2 separate regions of the Homo sapiens genome follow, and region 1 is linked to region 2. Evidence: promoter capture Hi-C in 16 types of primary human blood cells and fetal thymus (Javierre and others, 2016). All regions are on one chromosome and are shown on one strand. Each heading gives the region's core, a stretch centred on a gene start or on the middle of the fragment in contact. The rest is flanking DNA. Distances are from core to core; before and after follow the strand shown. Region 1 overlaps PPP1R35-AS1 (PPP1R35 antisense RNA 1). Region 2 holds the start of MBLAC1 (metallo-beta-lactamase domain containing 1).

Region 1 (5,625 bases), core at 521-3,020, 310 kb after region 2:
CAGAGTGAGACCCTGTCACAAGAAAAAAAAAAGTTGGGGTTCGGAACAGTATTTGAGGGTACATGGATAAAACAAGATTAGCCAAATGTTGATGACTGCTGAAGCAGGATTTTATTACTATATTTTCTCTACTTTTGCATATTCTTGAACATTTCTGTGACTAAACGTTTTTTGTTTATTTAAAAAAAGAGGCTGACGCAGTTTTGGCATGCAGGAAGTGTTGGAGCTGAGACTCGAAACTGTCCCCCAGGCCTTGGCCATGCTGATAAATATCTAGGCCCTACAGGAGTTCGTGTCCATGAACCCAGTAAACGCAATTCCTCAGCCTTAAAATCTAGTCACTGACTCATTTCAGGCCCCAGCACAGACGAAAACAAGCCATTCTGTTTGCCCAGTTTACATTGCGGGTCTCCAAGAAGTGGAATGTTCACCAATGATTTTAAGAAAACAGGGCCTGGCGCGGTGGCTCACGCCTGTAATCCCAGCACTTTGGGAGGCCGAGGCAGGCAGATCACCTGAGGTTGGGAGTTTGAGATCAGCCTGACCAACATGGAGAAACCCCATTTCTACTAAAAATACAAAATTAGCCGGGTGTGGTGGTGCATGCTTGTAATCCCAGCTACTCAGGAGGCTGAGGCAGAATTGCCTGAAGCTGGGAGGCGGAGGTTGCAGTGAGCCAGAGATCGTGCCATTACATTCCAGCCTGGGCAACAAGAGCAAAACTCTGTCTCAAAATAATAATAATAATAATAATAATTAAAAAAAAAAAAACAGTACGAGTGTGAAGATCGGAAGGTGGAGGTGAGGGAGGTGAGAGGTCTTGGGCCTGCCCACATTCTTCCTAAGCTATTTTGGCTGGCCCAGGCTGGGAGGCCAGGAATTGCTTTTCCTCTTCAAAAGAAAAGGGGACAAAAAATTAGCTGGGCGTGGTAGCACTCATCTGTAGTCCCAGCTACTCAGGAGGCTGAGGCAGAAGAATTGCTTGAACCGGGGAGGCAGAGGTTGCAGTAAGCTGAGATTGTGCTGCTGCCCTCCAGCCTGGGTGACAGAGCGAGACTCGGTCTCAAAAAAAAAAAAAAAAAAAATGGGGAGGAGGACAGGGCATGGTGGTTCATGCCTATAATTCCAGCATTTTGGGAGGCCAAGGCAGGCAGATCACTTGAGGCCAGGAGTTCGAGACCAACCTGGGCAACACAGTGAAACCCTTTCTCTACTAAAACTACAAAAAATTACCTGGGCATGGCAGCACATGCCTGTAATTTCAGCTACTCGGGAGGCTGAGGCATGAGAATCACTTGAACCTGAGAGGGGGAGGTTGCAGTGAGCCAAGATGGCACCACTGCACTCCAGCCTGGGCAACAGCGTGAGACTCTGTCTCAAAAAAAAAAAAAAAAAAAAAAAATGGCTGGGACACCGTGACTCATGCCTGTAATTCCAGCACTTTGGGAGGCAGAGGCAGGAGGATCCCTGTGAGGCCAGGAGTTCAAGACCAGCCTGGGCAACATAGTGAGACCCAGTCTCTATAAAAAAATTAAAAATTAGCCAGGCGTGGTGGTGTATTCCTGTAGTCCCAGGTACCGGGGAGGTTGAGGTGGGAGGATCCCTTGAGCCCAGGACTTCGAGGCTGCAGTGAGCTATGATCACGCCACTGCACTCCAGCCTTGGCGACAGAGCAACACCCATCTCTTAAATATTATTTATTATAAGGCTTTTGGGCTGGGTGCTGTGGCTCACGCCTGTAATCCCAGCACTTTGGGAGGCCGAGGCGGGCGGATCACGAGGTCAGGAGATTAACACCATCCTGGCTAACACGGTGAAACCCTGTCTCTACTAAAAATACAAAAAATTAGCCGGGTGTGGTGGCATGCGCCTCTAGTCCCAGCTACTCAGTAGGCTGAGGCAGGAGTATGGCGTGAACCTGGGAGTCGGAGCTTGCAGTGAGCCGAGATCGCACCACTGCACTCCAGCCTGGGCAACAGAGCGAGACTCCGTCTCAAAAAAAAAAAAAAAAAGACTTTTGATTGGGTTAGACCTCACCAGTTAGAGATGCTCCTTTAGTTATCTGAGGCTGCTGAGTGGGGTAATCCTAGACCTGGATGCTAGTTTGAAGAAAGCAAGTCTCAGTGCTGGAAGGGGTCATTCAAGGTCATCCATGAGCTTCTGCTGAGCCAGGTGCTATAGGTGGGCTAGGTGGGACAGGAGACAGGTCAGCATCCAGGGTCCTTGAAGGGACCATGTCCTTAAGAAGAGGTAGGATGCCTCCAATGCAGTGGTCCACTGCACGGTGTGGCTGAGACTGCTACAGAGGACACATGGGAAGACCTGCCAGGGTTGGGGGTGGGGGAGGAGCAAGGGCGTCATCCTGGAAGTCACCCCCAAATAGGGCCAAGAAAGATCAGAGAGACAGCAAAGCTCTAATACCACCCTCTGCAAACCCCACCTATGGCGACCTCTCACCTCCTGTCTCCTATTCTCAAACTGGCCTATGCCTAAGGGCCAACCCAGAGACACTTCCACACTGGTCCCTGTCACACGAGACACGCTGGAAGATGGGAATGGCCAACCTCCAGACACACACACATCCAGGCTCCTATCCCCAGAGTGCGTGTTCTCATCCTACTGCATCTCGGAGGCTGGCAGGGTGAATCCCCCAGCAGGTCAGGTAGGTCTGAGGTGTCTCAGCCTGAACTCATGACTCCAAACCACCTTCACGCCTTCGTCCCAACCCAGAAGGAAGAGATCCAGGGAGGAGGGCACACATCGGGCTGCAGGCCAACACACTGACCCTGAGCCTGGCCTCCCCAGCATCAGGCTGAGGAACAGGAGGGTTGAGATGAGCCCCATTAGGTATGTGTGAAGTCTCTGGGACATGGGATGATGCCAGCTGCTGGGATGCAGAAAAGTTGGAGGCAGGGGACAGAGTCTCATTCAAAAGAATTTGTCCATAATCCAAGCTGGGTGTTGTGGCTCACGCCTATAATCCCAGCACTTTGGGAGGCCCAAGCAGATGGATCACTTGAGGTCAGGAGTTCAAGACCAGCCTGGCCAACATGCTGAAACCCCGTCTCTACTAAAAATATAAAAATTACCCGTATGTGGTAGCCCAGGCCTGTAATCCCAGTTACTTGGGAGGCTGAGGTGGGAGGATTGCTTGAACCCAGGAGGTGGAGGTTGCAGTGAGCCCAGATCATGCCACTGCACACCAGCCTGGGCAACAAAGCGAGCAAAGCGAGACTCCATTTCAAAAAAAAAAAAAAAAAATTTTAGCTGCGTGTGCTGGCACATGCCTGCAAATCCCAGCTACTCCGGAGGCTGAGGCATGAGAATCACTTGAACCTGGGAGGCAGAGGTTACAGTGAGCCGCCAGCAACTGTATCTCAAATAAATAAATAAATAAATAAGAATTTGTCTGGAATCTGGGTGAGGCAGAGGAAAATGAAAGAAACCAGAAAAGCAAAGATAAACAGATTTGCAGGGTGGGGTGGAGGATGGAGAATTCAATGGAGCTGAGCACAGCAAGGAGGAGAATGTTGGGCTGAAGGCCTGAGCTTGCTGGGGAGATGTCCTTGATGTCCACACTGGGCATAGAAGGTTGATTGATGCCAGTGGTTAGGGTCCCAAAGAGCCCAGGGACAGCTGGAGGTAGAAAGAAAGGGTGTGGAGGCACGGAAGATGGGCCCATAACCCAGGAAAAGGGAGCCACAGATAGGGGAAATGTATGCAGAAATCGCCACCCTCACTCTGGGAGGCAGGTCCCGACAGATCCCCTTAGCAGGGGACCAATGCCCAGGACCTTGGGGAGATGGTTGGGGACGGGGGAAGCAGCAGATGGTCTGTTACTCAATGAGCACACAGGAGATGTTGGGGGGTCTTGGGGTGGAGAGTGATTCCATGGAAGCCTCTGGATTGGACAAGGAGATGTTGGTGTGAGGTTTTTCCACAGTCCAAGAGAGGCGATTGGACAAGGAGATGTTGGTGTGAGGTTTTTCCACAGTCCAAGAGAGGCTGGTAGAAGAAAAGCAGGTTCTGCTATCAGGCCGGGTGCAGTGGCTCACACCTGTAATCTCAGCCCTTTGGGAGGCCCAGGTGGGAGCATCACATGAGGACAGGCATTCGAGAGCAGCCTGGGCAAGATGGTGAAACCCTGTCTCTACAATAAAAACACAAAAAAATTAGCCGGGTGTGGTGGTGTGCACCTGTAGTCCCAGCTACTCAGGAGGCTGAGACCGGAGGATCACTTGAGCCCAGGAGTTCAAGACCAGCCTGGGCTGGTCAAGACCCCATTTCTAAAAAAATTTAGCCAGGCATGGTGGTGTATGCCTGTAGTTCCAGCTACTTTGTTGGCTGAGGCAGGAGGGTCCCTTGAGCCCAGGAATTTGAGGCTGCGCTGAGCTATGATTGTGCCACTTCACTCCAGTCTGGGTGACAGAGCGAGACCCTGTCTCTAAAAATAAATAAATAAGCCAGGCGCAATGGCTCATGCTTGTAATCTCAGTACTTTGGAAGGCCAAGGCGGGAGGATCACTTGAGCCCAGAAGTTGGAGACCAGGCTGGGCAACATAGAAAGACCCCATCTCTACCAAAAATTTAAAAAATTATCTGGGTGTGATGGTGCACACTTATAGTCCCAGCTACTCAGGAGGCTGAGGTGGGAGGATCACTTGAGCCCAGGTCAAGGCTACAGTGAGTTATGATCACACCACGGCACTCCAGCCCGGGCAAAAAGCGAGACTGTCTCTAAACAAATAAATAAATAAAAAGCCATTTTTTTCACATATGAATGGACTCCTGGGAATGCAAGCTTGGAAATGGGGAGGCCGAAGCCCTTGCCTCTCTGCCTCCTCGCAGCCCTGGCCCGTCTCTCGTCTGTCTCCCTGGGTTTCAGTCCCAGCTCCAGTGCCTACTGACCATGTGACCTGGGGATCATTCCCTTTCCTCTGAGAGCCCCCCTCTTCCTCATCTGAACACTGAGGAAATGACTGGCCTCATATGGTTGCCAGAGCTCAGTTGGGGCCCTCAGAAGGTCGAGTCATTGTTTTTCAGGAGCTGATGAGATCATGGCACGTGTGCCATTGACCTCTGTCCTTCCTCCCTCCCCACCTTTGACTCAGCCTGTCCTCTCCTCCTCTGGACGACCTCTGGGACATCCTGCCCTTTTCCCGTGTTCATTGTTTCTGCAGCAGATGAGCAGGATGTCGGGGATGCTGGGAAATGAAAGGCCCCTGGTCTCTCTGCCGGTAGGCTCTGAGGCAGGGGGTTCAGACCCTCTCGCCTCGGGCTCCTGCTGGCTGGCCCCACACGTGCCCCCTCCAGCCCCAGCCCTGCTCAGTGGAGAAAACAGATAAGGCAGGAAATGTGGCCCCAGTTCTAGGAAGCTCAGAGTCCCAGGAGGCAGAAGACATGCCTCTCACCCGCTCACTGACACCTGCTATTTGCTGGGGCCTGGGAGTGGCATGGACAGCTCTGAGTGGGGCCAGCTTTCACCCTCCCAGGGTGCAGCATGAACTCTAACATCCAGGCCAGGCCAGGCTCCAGGAAAGAGGATGCAAAACTTCATGCAGCCTGTGCAGATTAAACACCAGCCCCAGCTCTGTGAAGGGTAGGTCAGCTCAGCCTGGAGGATGG
Region 2 (5,581 bases), core at 2,440-4,939:
GTTGCCATGAGCCAAGATCGCACCATTGCACTCCAGCCAGGGCGACAGAGCAAGACTCCATCTTAAAAAAAAAAACAAAAACAAAAACAAAAAAAAAGAAATCATAATGAGCCGGGTGGAGTGGCTCACAACTGTAATGCTAGCACTTAGTGAGTCTGAGGGAGAAGGACTGTTTGAGACCAGAGTTAGAGACCAGCTTGTGCAACATAAGAGACCCCCTTCTCTACAAATAATAATAATTTTAAAGAATTTTTTTTTTCAAGACGGAGTTTCACTCTTATTGCCCAGGCTGGAGTGCACCGGCACCATCTCGGCTCACCGCGACCTCCGCCTCCCGGGTTCAAGCCATTCTCCTGCTTCAGCCTCCCGAGTAGCTGGGATTACAGGCCCCTGCCACCACGCCCAGCTAATTTTTTGTAATTTTAGTAGAGACGGGGTTTCATCATGTTGGCCAGGCTGGTCGAACTCCTGACCTCAGGTGATCCACCCGCCTTGGCCTCCCAAAGTGCTGGGATTACAGGCATGAGCCATTGGGCCCTGCCTTAAGGAAAATTTTTAAAAAGTAATAATGGGCCAGGTGCGATGGCTCACGTATGTAATCCCAGCACTTTGGGAGGGCGAGACAGGCGGATCACGACATCAGGGGTTCAAGACCAGCCGGGCCATCATAGTGAAACCCTGTCTCTACTAAAAATACAAGAATTAGCCGGGCGTGGTGGTGTGGTGGCATGCATCTGTAGTCCCAGCTACTCAGGAAGCTGAGGCAGGAGAATCACTTGAACCCGGGAGGCGGAGGTTGCAGTGAGCTGAGATCCCACCACTGCAGTCCAGCCTGGGTGACAGAGCGAGACTCCATCTCAAAAAAAAAAAAAAGTAACAATGGTTGCTAATGATATCCACCATCACTTATTGAGCACCTACTGTGTCCCAGACTCTGGACCAGATACTTTGCATCTGTAGCCTCATTTTACCCTTAACAGCCTGATGTGGTAGGTGCAATTACCATACATATTTTACAGGCAAGGAGCTGAGACTCAAGAGTTTAATAATCTACTTGGCAGAATAGGTGCTGGTAAATGTTTGTTGAATGAATGAGGATTGCACATCTAGTAGGCCAAACTTAGCTTCCTGGCTACCTGCCTCTCCAAAATCAGTCAGGTTGAGCAGGGAGAGAAGACAGGCGGGATCCCAAATCCCTCCAGAGCAGATACTCTTCTGGCCCTTCTACTTGACCAGTGTGAGACCATGTTGGAGGAGTTTGAAGACATTGTGGGAGACTGGTACTTCCACCATCAGGAGCAGCCCCTACAAAATTTTCTCTGTGAAGGTCATGTGCTCCCAGCTGCTGAAACTGGTAAGCGTAAGGGTTGAACTCCTCTCCTGCCAAGCCATAGCCTCCCCTGCCTCCAGGACTAATATCTAAATTGTTTTCTGTCATCCGATCTAGCATGTCTACAGGAAACTTGGACTGGAAAGGAGATCACAGATGGGGAAGAGAAAACAGAAGGGGAGGAAGAGCAGGAGGAGGAGGAGGAAGAGGAGGAAGAGGAAGGGGGAGACAAGATGACCAAGACAGGAAGCCACCCCAAACTTGACCGAGAAGATCTTTGACCCTTGCCTTTGAGCCCCCAGGAGGGGAAGGGATCATGGAGAGCCCTCTAAAGCCTGCACTCTCCCTGCTCCACAGCTTTCAGGGTGTGTTTATGAGTGACTCCACCCAAGCTTGTAGCTGTTCTCTCCCATCTAACCTCAGGCAAGATCCTGGTGAAACAGCATGACATGGCTTCTGGGGTGGAGGGTGGGGGTGGAGGTCCTGCTCCTAGAGATGAACTCTATCCAGCCCCTTAATTGGCAGGTGTATGTGCTGACAGTACTGAAAGCTTTCCTCTTTAACTGATCCCACCCCCACCCAAAAGTCAGCAGTGGCACTGGAGCTGTGGGCTTTGGGGAAGTCACTTAGCTCCTTAAGGTCTGTTTTTAGACCCTTCCAAGGAAGAGGCCAGAACGGACATTCTCTGCGATCTATATACATTGCCTGTATCCAGGAGGCTACACACCAGCAAACCGTGAAGGAGAATGGGACACTGGGTCATGGCCTGGAGTTGCTGATAATTTAGGTGGGATAGATACTTGGTCTACTTAAGCTCAATGTAACCCAGAGCCCACCATATAGTTTTATAGGTGCTCAATTTTCTATATCGCTATTAAACTTTTTTCTTTTTTTCTAAAAACTAGCTGGGCCCAAAGTTTCAAACAACAGCCGGGCACACATAGCTAGCTGGTCGATGAGGCAGCACCCAGAATGGCCGCTGTCTTGTTAAGCTCAAGCTCCAGCCTGAGCAACATAGTGAAACCCCAATTCTACACACACACACACACACAAAGAAGACTGCAGGGCTGGTGGTGCAGCGCCTGTAGTCCCAGTTACTGCAGAGGTGGAGATGGGAGGATCACTTGAGTCCAAAAGGTCAAGACCAGCCTGGAGGCTGGGCGCAGTGACTCACACCTGTAATCCTAGCACTTTGGGAGGCCGAGGCAGGCGGATCACCTGAGTGTAGGAGTTCGAGAGCAGCCTGGCCAACATGGAGAAACCTCGTCTCTACCAAAAATACAAAAATTAGCCGGGCGGCTGGGCGCGGTGACTCACGCCTGTAATCCCAGCACTTTGGGAGGCCAAGGCGGGTGGATAACAAGATTAGGAGATCGAGACCATCCTGGCTAATACGGTGAAAGCCCGTCTCTACTAAAAATACAAAAAATTAGCCGGGTGTGGTGGCAGGCGCCTGCAGTCCCAGCTACTCGGGAGGCTGAGGCAGAAGAATGGCGGGAACCCGGGAGGCGGAGCTGGCAGTGAGCCAAGATCGTGCCACTGCACTCCAGCCTGGGTGATAGAGCGAGACTCCGTCTCAAAAAAAAAAGCCACGCATGGTGGTGGGCGCCTGTAATCCCAGTTACTCGGGAGGCTGAGACAGGAGAATCGCTTGAACCCAGGAGGCGGAGGTTGCAGTGAGCTGAGATCACGCCACTGCACTCTAGCCTGGGCGACAGAACAAGACTCCGTCTCAAAAAAAACCAAAAAAAATTTAGAGGGGCGTGCACGCCTGTATTCCCAGCACTCCAGGAGGCTGAAGCAGGAGGATCGCTAGAACCAGGGGTTCAAGACTGGGGCGAGCTATGATGGTGCCCCTGCACTCTAGCCTGGGCGACAGGGCGAGACTGTCTCAAAAGAAAAAAAGACCAGGCGCGGTGGCTCACACCTGTAATCCTAGCACTTCAGGAGACCAAGACTGGAGGATCGCTGGAGCCCAGGAGTTCCAGACCAGTCCTGGCAACAGAACTAGACCGTGTCTCCAAAAAAAAAGAGAAAGAAAAAATAGAAACCTTAGCTGGGCTTGGTGGTGCGCATCTGTGGTCCCAGATACTCGGGACGCTGAGGCGGGAGGATCACATGAGCCCAGGAGGTTGAGGCTGCAGTGAGGTATGATCGCGCCACTGCACTCCTGCCTGGGCAACTGAGCATGAACCCTCCTCAAAGCTAATGGCGCTTCAAAATTCTGCAGTGCAAAGAAGTTGCTGGGGTTGCGGAGCGGAGAACCGCCAGGAGGCTGGAGCCCAGCCAGGCAGCCTCCTCGGGCACACGGTGAAGGCGCCGGAACTACAGCTACCTCCGCGGCGCCGCTTCGGCCGCCATATCTGGGTACACGGGAACCGCAGAGGACAAACTCTCACCCGCGTTTTCGATTTCTGCGCTTTCTTCGAGTGAGGCAAGACCTAGCAGAGGCCCAAGGTAGAGCGCGGCTAGGATTCGATGGAGGGAAACATAAAGGATAGCCTTTGGAGGGTGACGGGCAAGGACGTACGTACCGCGAACGGAATGGGGCGGGGGCCGAGGACGCCGAGGGAGGGGCGGGCCCAAGTGTGAAGGGAGTCTGGGCGATACCATTTTGGGCAGGGGTTGAGGGTGATACCAACTTAATGGGAGGCGGGTGGCAGAGAACCGAGGCTTAGGGGCAGTGGCGGGGCCGAGCGCGGGTGGGGGATCGCGGAGGGACAGGACGGTCGCCCACTGCTCCATTTCCTTTCTCCCCAGCCCGTCCCTCCCTGCCAGGAGCAGCCTCATGCGGACCGAGCCGCTGTGCGGGGCATCCCCTCTGCTGGTGCCCGGCGACCCCTACTCTGTGGTGGTTCTGCTGCAGGGCTACGCGGAGCCAGAGGGTGTGGGCGATGCCGTGCGCGCCGACGGCTCCGTGACCCTGGTCCTACCCCAGACCCGGGGCCCGGCCTCCAGCCACCGAGAGTCCCCGCGCGGGAGTGGCGGCGCAGAGGCCGCCCTGGAGGAGGCGGCCCGTGGCCCCATCCTGGTGGACACCGGGGGCCCCTGGGCTCGGGAGGCGCTGCTGGGGGCGCTGGCGGGGCAGGGCGTGGCCCCGGGAGACGTGACGCTAGTGGTGGGGACCCACGGGCACTCGGATCACATCGGGAACTTGGGGCTGTTCCCAGGCGCGGCTCTGCTGGTCTCGCACGACTTCTGCCTTCCCGGAGGCCGCTACCTGCCCCACGGGCTGGGTGAGGGGCAGCCCCTGCGCCTGGGCCCGGGGCTCGAGGTGTGGGCCACGCCGGGCCACGGGGGCCAGCGCGACGTGAGCGTGGTGGTGGCCGGCACGGCTCTGGGCACCGTGGTGGTGGCGGGAGATGTGTTTGAGCGAGATGGGGACGAGGATTCGTGGCAGGCACTGAGTGAAGACCCCGCAGCCCAGGAGCGGAGCCGGAAGAGGGTCCTGGTCGTTGCCGACGTGGTCGTACCTGGTCACGGGCCCCCCTTTCGAGTGTTAAGGGAAGCCTCGCAGCCCGAGACGGAGGGTGGAGGGAACAGCCAGCAGGAGCCGGTGGTCGGAGACGAGGAGCCCGCCCTGCACTAATCAGCCTCGAGAGGGACTGCACTCTTGTCAGGGAAGCCCTAACAGCGAAGAGCTGCTGGAGACAGAGTCAGAGCAGTCAAGGGTGGGAGCTTCCAGCCCTTCCAGGAGGCCAGTTTTCTAGTGAAGACAGAGTGCACCTGACACTGCCATCACATCGTCAGTATCACTGCCTGTCTCTGCCACCAAACTAAGATCAAAGGAGGGGCTCAGCTCCCTGTGCATTCTCCCTGGGCCTCAGTAAAATGGGAGAAGGTTCGTGGGAGGGGCCTCCAAAATAAAAATGGAAACTGCATTGAAAATCATAGTGCCCTAGTGTAAATGTGAAGCATTGACAATGATAATCGTGCAAACATGGTAATCTACAACTACAGCAGAGGCATACTTTGGCCAATTGCCCCTTTCTTATAGGATGGAGGTTGCTGAGAGAAGGTACAGGGCATAAAGATGACCCCTTAGTCACCTGACTTATGTATTTGTTCATATTTTTTTGTCACACAGGCTAGAGTGCAGTTGTGCAGTCATAGCTCACTGCAGCCTCCAGCTTAAGCCATCCACCTGCCTCAGCCTCCCAAGTAGCTGGGATGACAGGCAAGTGCCACTATGCCCCACTAATTTTTTTTTTTTTTTGAAACACGGTTTCACTCTGTCCCCACAGGCTGCAA

Evidence for each region. The method cuts DNA at HindIII sites, captures the fragments that hold promoters and counts their contacts. A CHiCAGO score of 5 or more calls a contact.
Region 1: a fragment that was not itself captured here is called in contact with the fragment with the promoter of MBLAC1 in region 2 in 3 of 17 cell types (total B cells, activated CD4 T cells and naive B cells); the score reaches 6.1 in total B cells.

Annotation. Positions count from the first base shown.
Region 1 is chr7:100,439,545-100,445,169 of GRCh38, forward strand. It overlaps PPP1R35-AS1 (PPP1R35 antisense RNA 1), which reads left to right. Exons shown (of 3, transcript NR_187540.1): 3 at 190-333. Among named protein-coding and RNA genes, the nearest start is that of PPP1R35-AS1, 5.7 kb to the left of the region's middle. RefSeq lists enhancers at 4,289-4,973, 4,974-5,625, 5,569-5,625 and a cis regulatory region at 4,774-5,625. The HindIII fragment of the contact is 6,057 bases long and covers 1-4,799 here.
Region 2 is chr7:100,123,278-100,128,858 of GRCh38, forward strand. MBLAC1 (metallo-beta-lactamase domain containing 1) reads left to right here and starts at 3,690. Exons shown (of 2, transcript NM_203397.3): 1 at 3,690-3,787; 2 at 4,091-5,218. The coding sequence starts at 4,119. The coding sequence ends at 4,919. It overlaps CNPY4 (canopy FGF signaling regulator 4), which reads left to right. Exons shown (of 6, transcript NM_152755.2): 5 at 1,237-1,354; 6 at 1,448-2,231. The coding sequence ends at 1,611. It also overlaps a transcript of TAF6 not described here. RefSeq lists enhancers at 2,260-2,929, 3,640-3,709 and silencers at 3,910-4,029, 4,120-4,599. The HindIII fragment of the contact is 8,479 bases long and covers 1,879-5,581 here.